Linked DNA regions of Homo sapiens: all the other regions are linked to region 3. Evidence: promoter capture Hi-C in 16 types of primary human blood cells and fetal thymus (Javierre and others, 2016). All regions are on one chromosome and are shown on one strand. The core of a region is centred on a gene start or on the middle of the fragment in contact, and the rest is flanking DNA. Distances in the headings are between cores, read along the strand shown. Region 1 overlaps PLEKHG1 (pleckstrin homology and RhoGEF domain containing G1). Region 2 has its middle 110 kb from the start of PLEKHG1. Region 3 holds the start of PLEKHG1 (pleckstrin homology and RhoGEF domain containing G1). Region 4 overlaps PLEKHG1 (pleckstrin homology and RhoGEF domain containing G1).

What was found. Contacts are between HindIII fragments. The CHiCAGO score rates a contact against its expected background, and 5 or more counts as called.
Region 1: a fragment that was not itself captured here is called in contact with the fragment with the promoter of PLEKHG1 in region 3 in 3 of 17 cell types (total B cells, naive B cells and fetal thymus); the score reaches 16.4 in total B cells.
Region 2: a fragment that was not itself captured here is called in contact with the fragment with the promoter of PLEKHG1 in region 3 in 1 of 17 cell types (endothelial precursors); the score reaches 9.4 in endothelial precursors.
Region 4: a fragment that was not itself captured here is called in contact with the fragment with the promoter of PLEKHG1 in region 3 in 1 of 17 cell types (total B cells); the score reaches 5.1 in total B cells.

Annotation. Positions count from the first base shown.
Region 1 is chr6:150,702,353-150,705,246 of GRCh38, reverse strand. The region is part of intron 2 of PLEKHG1 (pleckstrin homology and RhoGEF domain containing G1); the gene reads right to left. Among named protein-coding and RNA genes, the nearest start is that of PLEKHG1, 100 kb to the right of the region's middle. The HindIII fragment of the contact is 3,822 bases long and covers 1-2,894 here.
Region 2 is chr6:150,492,646-150,495,606 of GRCh38, reverse strand. No RefSeq gene overlaps it. Among named protein-coding and RNA genes, the nearest start is that of PLEKHG1, 110 kb to the left of the region's middle. The HindIII fragment of the contact is 2,096 bases long and covers 222-2,317 here.
Region 3 is chr6:150,598,495-150,601,246 of GRCh38, reverse strand. It overlaps PLEKHG1 (pleckstrin homology and RhoGEF domain containing G1), which reads right to left and starts at 1,362. Exons shown (of 17, transcript NM_001029884.3): 1 at 1,230-1,362. RefSeq lists silencers at 685-854, 1,065-1,544, 1,340-1,634, 1,815-1,874. The HindIII fragment of the contact is 1,307 bases long and covers 475-1,781 here.
Region 4 is chr6:150,666,570-150,669,483 of GRCh38, reverse strand. The region is part of intron 2 of PLEKHG1 (pleckstrin homology and RhoGEF domain containing G1); the gene reads right to left. Among named protein-coding and RNA genes, the nearest start is that of PLEKHG1, 68 kb to the right of the region's middle. The HindIII fragment of the contact is 221 bases long and covers 1,375-1,595 here.

The sequences.
Region 1 (2,894 bases), core at 270-2,769, 100 kb before region 3:
CTTCTGCAGACACTTAGAGATTTTAATCTATTTAGACATTTTAATACATCAATTATCATAATGGTATTGTTAACCAAAAAACTGGTGATTGTTAGTACACACCCTAAACCATTATTTCTCCAGGTGTTACCTAACACCTCCTAAATTACTGCTATGGACTGAATTTTGTCCCCCCGCCCAAATACATATGTTGATGTTGAAGCCCTAACCCCCAAAGTGACTGTATTTGGAGACGAGCCCTTTAAGGAGGTGGAATTAAATGAGGTCATAAGGGTGGGGCTCTAGTCCAACAGGACTGGTGTCCCTATAGGAAGAGAAGGAAATACGAGAGATCTTGCTCTCTCTCTATGCAAAAGCCTATGTGAGAATACAGCCAGAAGGCAGCCGTCTGTAAGCCAGGAAGAAAGGCCTCACTGGACACCAACCCCACTAGCACCTTGATCTTGGACTTACAACCACCAGGACTATGAGAAAATAAATGTCTGTCATTTAAGCCACCAGTCTGTGTTATTGTTATGGCAGTCCAAGCTGGCTAACAATCATCATCAGCAAGATTTTCAACAAGCAACCAGATTGCTGGGCCCTGCCCAAGAGCACAACATCAGAATTTTCAGGGACAGGGCCCAGGAATGGGCAAAGGTACCTGAACTCTTTGGGTGATGTAAGGTTGAGAACCAGTGCTCCACGGAGAGCTCAAGGCTGCCTGCAGCCCCTTACTCCACCTGCCTCAGCCTTCCCCTAGTCCATCATCCCAATGAAAAACGCTTTGATGGGGTCAAGGATGACAGACTTCAAGGATTAGACTCTCCAAAGGAGAAATAAAGGATTGTGAATAGAACTAGGCAGGAATCATGCTGGGGTCCAGGGTGAGGTGTGTTATAGGAAAAGCCCCTTTTGTCTCTGAGTTCAGAGGGGGCTTGTTCAGAAGGGACAAGAGGGGCCCTTGAGACCTGTGTGAAATGCTGCCAAACTCCATGGGAAGAAGACCAGAGGAAGGTTTATGTCTGAAGCCCAAGGTTAATGAAGAGTGCGTTTATGCTGACTATTCCCTGCCCTCAGAGGACAGCACCAGCAAACATCGCCCCCCTCACTCCAAAGAACCAACTAAGATTCATTCTCAACATGCTAACAGGTCAGTCGGACCATCAACCATTGAGGATACTTTCAACTCCGAAACTCAGCACCGATAAAGTTGTTATTTGCAATTGTTGCACTTTGAATCTTTTTGTAAGTCCTGATCTTCACCAGAGTGAAAGGCTCTACTATGTCAAACTGAAAAGACTTAAAATTAGTTCCATTGTCAGGGATAATAATATATAAACAAATTCAAAGTCACCAAGTACGTTCAACTATGTAAAAATGCCACATGAAATTCTGCAAGTTTTCAAAAATCAAGGTGCTAAACAGCAATCAAACACTATTTTAAAACAGCATATTCACTGGAGGGCAAGACCAGAGTATTTTTTCCTGTGATTCATATGTATTGCCAGGGTAGAGAGACACTGCTGTGACACAAGAATGTTCCATGCTTCCAAATTAAGGTACAATTTAACAGAAAAGCAGAATATATTCTAGACTGATTTTTTTTAATACTGTAGGAAGTAGCTCTTCAAGTAGAAAAAAGTTGTTTTGTTTTTTTTTTTTTTAAGATGGAGTCTTGCTCTGTCGCCCAGGCAAGAGTGCAGTGGCGCAATCTTGGCTCACTGTAACCTCCACTTCCTGGATTCAAGCGATTCTCCTGCCTCAGCCTCACGAGTAGCTAGGATTACAGGCATGTGCCACCACGCCTGGCTAATTTTTGTATTTTTAGTAGAGATGGGGTTTCACCATGTTGGCCAGGCTGGTCTTTAACTCCTGAGCTCAAGCGATCTGCCTGCCTCAGTCTCCCAAAGTGCTGGGATTACAGGCCACCATGCCCAGCCAGACAAGAGCTTTTCTAACGGACTGAATAAAATTATATTTTAAGTATTAAGCAAGTCAGAATCTAAGAACCCTTGATGGGCAATCTGTACATCCTCATCTGCTTTCATTTTGATAAACTTACAAGAAGGAGTTAGGAAGGAGAGAAGTGGGAAGGGATTTCATGATTTTCTTTATTATGAGGCTAAAACCTGGGTCTGACTCCCCTGCCTCCCTGACAGCTTGTATCTCTCCAAGTACCTTGGCCATTTTTTCATCTAAAGGCCTAGGCAGATAAAGGGAGAATGATGGAGATGAAAACACAGGCCTTGCTGAGGTTTTTTGTTTTGTAGGAATAAAATGAGAAGCATTGGTACCACTCAGCTATGCCACTAAAGATGCAGAAGTGCGAGGCTGCTAGCCCACGGGAGGAAGTGGCTGCTTCCTCGTAAGGAATGAACGCAGCAGGTCATCAGCTACAGAGTGGGGGAACTTCAGGGTTCAGAACAGCCCTGAGGCAACAAGGAACAAGTCGGAAGTTGACCCATTATGGAGACTGCCAGGTTCTAGATAGATTTAGAAAGTCTGTTTGTTATTGGTGGTTATCTTCGGGGTTATTATTTCCCCAACAGCTTTTGCTTATGTTTTTTATTTATGACAAAATAAAATATAACTACATGTTAAGGGATTACACTAGGTGATTTAAATAACTGTTAGAAGGGTACAATTTGGGTACTGGATGACATATATATAAGTACACACACACACACACACACACACACACACACACCCCAAAACAAAATGAGAAGTACTGCTGATGGTGAGAGGTTCCCAATGCCCTTTATAACGTGATCCATACATCAGAACTTTTTTTTTTTGAGACGGAGTCTTGCTCTGTCACCCTGGCTGGAGTGCAATGGCATGATCTTGGCTCTCTGCAACCTCTGCCTCTGGGGTTCAAGCGATTCTCCTGCCTCAGCCTCCTGAGTAGCTGG
Region 2 (2,961 bases), core at 20-2,519, 110 kb after region 3:
CTCCTTCCCTGTCACCTGGACTGCCTGACTTGGTAGCGCCTGCTATTTATGCCCCAGCCACTTAACTGCTTAGCAGTTTTCCTTACTGTAAAAGTACAAGAACCCACTTAGCACAGCCCAAACCTTCTTCATGGTGTGCAACAATCTCATGGCATCTCCTACAAGTTTCCTAGTTATCCCAAATTAGCCATTTATCCATAGACAGTGTCAGTTCTCAAGCTTTAATAAGAATCATTGGTAAGCGTGTTAAATACAGATTCCTGGGCAATCACTGTAAACACTGGATTTTGTAAGTCTGTGGTGGAGCACAGGAATCTGTGTTTTTCAACAGATCACTTAGGAGATTCTCATACAAGTGATCCAATGACTGCACTTGGAAATGACTGCACTGCTTTAAGAATAGTGTAAACCTTGGAGCCTATTAGACATGCAGAATCTGGGGCCTTACCTAGGACCTGCTGAATTAGAACCTACATTTTAACAAGATCTCCAGGCGACTCATGTGCCTGTTAAGTTTTGAGAAGCACGTTAATTTTGAAAGAACATCCTCATTGTCTGAAATAACCTGGAAGAGTAAGTAGAGTCTTTCAGTTCCAAAGGTGTTCAGTTCAGTTCTAAAGAATCGCACGGAAGAATCACACAGAAGAAATGCATGGACTACATATTTTAGTAAGAGTTTTATCATTGCTTTCAGGTTTTAATTCAGTTTTACAGTTCTTGTTGAGAAATACCGTATACTAAACCTCATTCTCCAATTTGGTTGCCTTCTCGAGGACATAAGGGTTTCTTGCTGAGCTCTTTTTATCCTCTGTTTTACACAATTATTTTGGGAGGTTGCTGGCTCACCAGGGAAATAATGTGCTATTTTCTATACAATATAATTTTCCTAACTCTACATTTTACATATCGGGTTCATGCCCTCACTAAATTCAAACATTTTATTTGTTTGCTTAAGGCAAGACATTGGGGTCATTCCCCAAACAAGTATCTCATCTGATGAAATCAGGAAGGTGCTTCTGGTGTCAAAGGGAAGTGTCTCATCTCCAGGGAGGGACTCCAACTTTTTGGCCGGGGGAGCAAGAACATCTGTTTCAGTCGTGATCCGTCCTGTTGGCTGAGCTGTCGGTGGGGGTGTTTGGGATGCAGCCCTGGACCTTCATCGGAAGACACTGCTGTGGTCATCAAAGGATATTTGCCATGGAATCCAGGACACACCCATAGGGAATAAATACACAGTTATGAAAAAATGATTACCAATAAAATAGTGACCTAGAAAGGCCCACAAGCTGGCTCAGGCCCTGGCTTTTTCTCCCCTCTTCTATTTTTACTCATTGGAAATAGACAAGAACATTTCAGAAAGAACATCCTCACTGTCTGAAATAATCTGGAAGAATAAGTACAGCAGTTCAGTTCCAAAGGCATTGTGGATACTCCATGTGTATTTTCATCAGCTGGTAACAATTTCTTAAAAACAAGACTTGATATGTGGCATTTTGCTCCTCAAGTCCATTTTAAATTATCTGTCCTCTCACCTAACAGGTTATAGGGAACACCCAGGAGGCCATAGGTATGAGGAGAGGCAGAGGCTACAGTAGCTCAGAGATCAGCCACGTGGAGTTCTGAGGCACTGTATTAGTCTGTTTTCATGCTTCTGATAGAGACATACCCAAGACTGGGCAATTTACAAAAGAAAGTGGTTTATTGGACTTACAGTTCTACATGGTTGGGGAGGCCTCACAATCATGGTGGAAGGCAAGGAGGAGCAAGTCACATCTTACATGGATGGTGGCAGGTGAAAAGAGAGCTTGTGCAGGGGATCTCCCATTTTTAAAACCATCAGATCTCGTGAGACCCATTCACTGTCATGGGAACAGTAGGGGAAAGAAGATGATTGAATCATCTTCTACTGGGTCCCTCCCACAACACATGGGAATTATGGGAGCTACAAGATGAGATTTGGGTGGGGACACAGAACCATACCGTATTAGGCACCTTCTCATGTAGCTTACTTGAGGAGATTCCCTCTCCCCTCTACACACACACCTTCTCCAACCTGATCCCAAATGAAGCCTTTCCATAGCACCATCTATTGCAACTGGTCTGAGACCTTATGAATCGGTGGACCTAACATGCCCAGCTCATGGTCAGGGACTCCTCTTTCCTGGGACCCTTCTCGTTCCCACTGAAATTTATGTATCCAGTTTGAATCTATTTTCTAAACAATATAGCCATTGACCTTTTCTCTTAGGAAAATAACAATTAAAAACACAAAAATCTGCTCAGGCCGAATATAGCCTTCAGGAAATACCCTTAAGCTTTAACCAGTGCACAGCCAGTCACTTGGTGCTTGCTGTAAAGGAATTTATAATGGGAAAACAATGTTCCCCAGGAAACTGGTTTACTTTCAGACACGTTATTAGACAAAGGGAGTAAAGGAGAGTCAGGGAAGTGAGCCAAGAAACCTGTGGGGCCGAGGGCTGCATGGCTGAGTCACTATGTGGGCCTGGTGTGCCAGTCCAGCAAGAGTGGTGCGATTCTCTCACATCTGTGTCTGTCCCGAGCCAGAGACCTGACCTCCAGCAGACATCCTTAGAAGGGCGCCAGTCCAGTCTTCTCATTTCACAGAGGAGGAAGGTAAATTTCGAATCTCAGGGGACTTGCAGGGATCACCCTCGCAGCTAATGATGGTGCTGGAACCCTGTGCCACCAGAGGCACAGAATGTGGGAAGCCATGCAACCACAAGGAGGGAGGATGGAAGGACCTGAGGGGCCAGCAAGAAGGTGGGGCCAGTGAGAAGGCAGGGCCAATGAAAAGGCAGGTCAGTGAGAAGGTGGGGCCAGCAAGAGGGTGGGGCCAGTGAGAGGGCAAGTCCAATGAAAAGGCGGGTCAGTGATAAGGTGGGGCCAGGAAGAGGGTAGGGCCATTGGAAGGGCAGGGCCAATGAAAAGACAGGTCAGTGA
Region 3 (2,752 bases), core at 113-2,612:
TTTTTAGAAGTATGCTGTCTACAGAATCTGAGAATCCAGAAGATGCCGGTTTTAACACCTGGTTGTTATTGTACCGCATTACAGGACCTACCCAAGCCCGGAATTCTGTTAGATGACAAACTGGACCCTAGAGTTAACATTCTAGTCTTTCCCCCGGTCTAAATACAAAACACAATATAGTTCTGTATCCAATCTGTTCAAAACTCCTAAACCAACTCTCAGTCTGAGATGGTCCTCGCGGGGTGATACCTGCCCCAAACACCCACACTCGGTGATTTCGAAAATACGTGCAGTAGCCTCGGCCACCTGCGGGTGGTACAAAGGGCGCCTTGAGGACCAGAGCTGGATGAAACGCCGGCTTACAAACCCCGCTCCGCCAGCACATTCAAGTCAAGGATCCAGCTCATTGTTTCCGAGGAGCGGAATGAATTGACCAGCCGAGCGCCGTTCTCCCAGTTAGAGCGTTCCCAAGCTTCCGGCTTCGGAACGGGGCTCACCGCGAGGACACAAAAGGGGCGAGCTCGGGCATCACTGCGGTTCCCCGCCGCCCGCCGAGGCCAGAACGCTCGCAGAGTCGCGGCCGCCCAGGTGTTACCGTTTACCCCGTGACGGAAGAGCCACAGGCTCTTGACTCCCCACCCCCTGAAAAGCGCATCTGCAGAACGGGGGCGCCCCCAAGCCCTGAGCGCCGCAGCAGCTCGGCCGCCGCCCCCACCGCGCGTCCCCGGGTCCTCGGGCTCCCGGCTTCGCTGCTGGGGAGCTGACCCAGCTGACTGGCTGTGGGGTCCCGTTCTGGGGCTGTCCTGCTGAGTCGGGGGTGGGGAAGCGGTGGCTACAACTCCCGGGTGCTCGCAGAAACTCCTCTGCGCGCTGATGTTGCAGCCGCTGGGGCGAGGGGCGGGAGCACCGGGAACTTGGGGGCGCGGAACCCCAAGCGGGGCGGCGGCGGGCAGCATCCCCGACCCGACTCCGACCCCCGAGACGCGGCGCCCCCCAGCGCCCTCCGTCCCCACCGCGCGGTGCCCCCGGCGCCCTCTGTCCCCACCGCTCGGCGCCCCCCAAGGCCCTCCGTCCCCACTGCGGAGGGGCGCGCAGGGGGCCGGCGGGGCCCGGGTACCACGCTCCGCCCGGCCCCACCTGCGGATGTGGGGCTCCCGCCGGAGGTCCCCGGGTCCCCCCTCCCATCCCTGGAAAAGTCCCCAGGGCGTCCGGGCCCGACCGGCGCTTACCCGGGGAGGGACGGCTTCGCATGCCCGGGCGGCGCTCGCAGGTCGGGCGGGGAGGGTGCGGGCTGCGCTGCGCCGGCTCGGGCTGCCGGAGCGCCCTGCAGCCGCCGTCGGGCTCGGGCTCGGGCTCAGGCTCGGGCTCCGACTTCCTCTTCCTCGGGCTCGGCCCCACTGCTCGGCCGCGCCCCGGCCCGCCCCTCCCCGCGCCCAGACGCCAGCTTCGGCGGCCGGAGCAGTGGATCGCTCGTCCCGCCTCCCCTCTGCCCTGAGGGTGAAAAAGGTGGAGAGGAGGGGGGCGAAGAGAAAGAGAAATTAGGCACTTGGCCTTGTCTCTGGAGCCTTGCCAAAGAGAACAGTCAAATTACAGCTTCGGGGGGAATAAAGTTTTTTTTTTTTTTAATTCTGCTACTGTTTTCGCAGACACATCACTTTTTTTCATTTTCCTAGCTCTTCAGGTTTAGCTTTCCTTTGGACGTAATAATTTCCTATGTGAGTCCTTTAAAATAATACCCAAAATCATGGTTTTAGTGAACATTCTAGTTTTACATAGAAGCTTTGCCGGTAATCAAGTGAAAAGAGGGGGAAGCCCGGTGTTCTTCAGGCGTCATTACCCTAATCACCTCGGTTAAAGCACCAAACGACCTTTGCCTAGAGAAAGTAAAAGTGGAAACGGAGGTAAAGAATAACCGGTGACAGCCAGAGAGATGTTTAAAGGCACCGGCTCTGCAGTAAAGTTATGACTCCAATCAAAGGTGCCTGCAGCGACAGTTAAAGGCATGTGAAGTCATTTCTTAACACTAATCTCCCGCCAAAGTCGGACGTATCAGGGTCGCCTGTGGACCCCCTTAGGTTTGGTGGTGGATTTGATTGCACTCTTAGTTGTTAACAGACCTTCAGCCTTACCACTTGCTAGCTGTGTGGCCTTGAGAGAACGCTTTAACCTCTCTGTGTTCTGTCTGTTTCCTCATCTGTAAAATGGAGATGATGATGATGATGATGATGATAGTGCCTACCTCATAGAGTTGCTGTATGTGATTTAAATAAGAGAATGTGCGTGAAGGGCTTAGGAGACTGTCTGGCACATGCTCTACAGCCTGAATAAATGTTAGCTATTCTTGTTGATTTTTGCCTTTTATCTGCTTTTATGCATATACATGATTATGGAAATTATCATAAAGACTGGGAACAAAACAAGGTTTGTGCAGTAAGGCTACACAGCATCACAGTTCTCTACCACGTGGAGTTTATGTTCTGTTTTATAATTTGAGTCTCCACAACTGACTTGTATTACCTAAAACTATGGGACTGGGTTATGCTTGGAATACATTTACCACGGTAGATTTGCAATGGGACTAAAACAGACATTTGCCATCTTCAAAGCATTGTTTCAGTTGGCCTTGCGATAACCTTGTGAGGTTGACAGGACAGGTGCTAGTCGCCTTTCACAGACAGGAAACTGAGCTTAATTAAGACCCTGCCCAGCTTCTGGAGCTCACACAAAATCATGCCTGTTACCCCATCTCTCT
Region 4 (2,914 bases), core at 236-2,735, 68 kb before region 3:
CAAAGAACGTCGCGTTATTTTATCCATTAGCTAAAGGGTTAATTCTCCCCACAGACTGAAGCCTTATGGGTTCAAGCTGATGCAATTATAAGGGAGTTAGACATCAAACTAGGTCAGAGAATGACCTCGGTAGGCAATCAAAAACCATCTCAGAAGCCTCTTCAACCCCCCATCTATCCAGGCAAAAGTCATCTTTTCTCCTCACTCCTACTCATTCTGTACAGCAAAAACACATCCCAGCTATCTACAGTGATGTGTCTTCAAGGCTTTCTCCCCTCTCTATTTGAGGGCTAGATCTAAGTCAGGAGCCTCCTTTTGTCTTTCCTGAACCCACAGTGGGGCTGTGCAAATGTTTGAGTTAAAAAATGAACATCAGTGTTTACAGGGATCTTATTTTAGGCTTTCCTCAGAACTAAGTAGGGGAGAAACAAAGAAAAGCCTGCAAAAAAAGGCCCTAGTTAAACTGTTTAAAAATAAATCCAGATTAACAATGGCATGGAGTCATCACTGCAATAAAATGCAAAGATGACGGCCAGATACTTGAGCTACATTGCTCACAATAATTCAGCTGCCATTTTATTTATATTTAAGGTCAAATAAGACAAATCTTGTTTTGTATTACTTTGTACAAAGCAGGGGGACTAGAGAGAATTTTACATTTCATATCATCAGAAGACTAAAATATTTTTCCAGAAACAAATCAAAATTTAAATAAGTGAAACATGAAATTTTTAACCTTTACCATACTCTGCCCTACAAATAATCAACTTATTTTCAGTGATTACACATAAAGCATTCCGGTTTTAAAGTCCTTTGTGCTAGAGTTTCAGGTCCGGCCTGATTAGGAACACTGCGCCCAGCTGAGTGGAATGTGGAACTCCTACTTGGTCATCGGCCAGCAAGACTCCATGGCAACCACTATGTTTCGACAGATCAAAGGAGAGTTGAGCACTCAGGAATTGTCTCAGACTACCCAATAATAGACACTACATTTAATATGAGTACACTTTCTCAAATGGACCATTAAATTTTATTGTAGAAGAACTCAAAATATCATGTACAAAAATTCCAGAAACTTACAAAGGGAACTGTTGGCTCTCCAAGAAAACCATCATTCCTTTTTTTGGAACTGGACTACAGGGAGTTGAAAAATCTTTGAGGGAGCCATAAAGAATCCAATCACTTTTTACTTTGTTTAGATGGTGTTCTAGCTGTTGAAGGCTCCCATGATAATTTTGTGTTCTGTTTTTAGCAGAAGTTACAGGTAGGGCAGCCAATGCTTTATGTCTGCTTTTGGCAAGCACAAGCAACAGTGAGTTTCTCACTTCAGGCTATGTGTGGGCACATGAAACCTTCACTAATTCAAAGAAAGCTTTCACAGCCAACAGCAACCAGTTTAGAAAAACAGCAATGAGACTTTCGGCATCAATCTTCACTTTCATATTCCTGGAAAGACCTATTGCACGTATTTTAGCCGCCCTTGTATACAAGATAATCTTCAAACCTTCTGCTCTGAATTCTTTTTTATACACACATCTTACAAAAAGACAAGAGGCCTTGAACATTTTAATACCTGCTGATGGGCTGGAAAAGCTTTTAAAGGAATAAGTAGCACTCTACCACAAGAAGACAGTATTTTTACTTGTGACTGCTGATGGATTCACTATCCCTTGTAGTTCTAAAGGAGAGTCACCTCTACTTTTCACAGTTTCATTTATTTGCAGACTTCTGAATTCAGCTTTTCTAAAAGTTCTCTAGCAGCATAGAGGGTGTGTGAGGAAAACCGGGTAATATTATTTCCTAGGCAATTTTAATGCAAATTCAATGCAGGAAAATATTCCTGCTTGAATTAATAAAACATTGTTTAGCCAAATCTGTTGCAAATAGGAAAAAGTAGACTGCTATAAATAAAAGTAATAAACCACAGGAGGCTGTCCTTGGATTCTGTACTTCAGACTACTATTTTCCAAGATACCTTATGATCCTAAATTGTAACAAACAGAAGTATGTTCTGCCTTGAACCCCATTTTAGTGTCATATTAAGACAACATAATGCTGTTTAGTACATATATGTTGAAAACACAAGACTTGGCTGAACAGATAATAGAAACAGCCTTTTCAGAGTCAATCCTTAGTCAAAGGCTAAGTATTCACAAAATCATATGTAGAAACTCTTTTTAAAAAAATTATGTCCGCAGCAATATAATATTTAAAAAGACTGGTGAGCAAACATTTTAGGGATGCTAAAAACTTGAAATATTAGTAGTTAGCTAACTAAAGGTGATGCAGACCCAACCCTAATATATGTTTAGACAGGCCCAGTTTTCATGCTATATGATTTAAATAGCTTGGCATCCCTAAGCATTGTACACACACACACAAACACACACACACCCCCTTTTGGAGAAAATTTAAAAATCTTATCAGGCTGGGCGCAGTGGCTCACGCCTGTAATCCCAGCACTTTGGGAGGCCGAGTTGGGTGGATCACGAGGTCAGGAGATCGAGACCATCCTGGCTAACGCGGTGAAACTCCATATACTAAAATATAAAAAAATTAGCCGGGTGTGGTGGTGGGCACCTGTAGTCCCAGCTACTTGGGAGGCTGAGGCAGGAGAATGGTGTGAACCCGGGAGGCGGAGATTGCAGTGAGCCGAGATTGCGCCACTGCACTCCAGCCTGGGCGACAGAGTGAGACTCCATCTCAAAAAAAAAAAAAAAATTATCAATGCAGCTGGTATGATGGCAACTGTATGAAGCTAGAAGGCAAGATATCTTGATTCCAGCTCAGTCTCTGACATGAACTTGCTGTGCACGTTTGATGGTATTGCCAGCTCTCTCCAGACTGCAATTTTCTCATCAATAACATGAGATACTTAGGAGTAGGTCTTTTCTGTGTCTGCAATGAACACCTA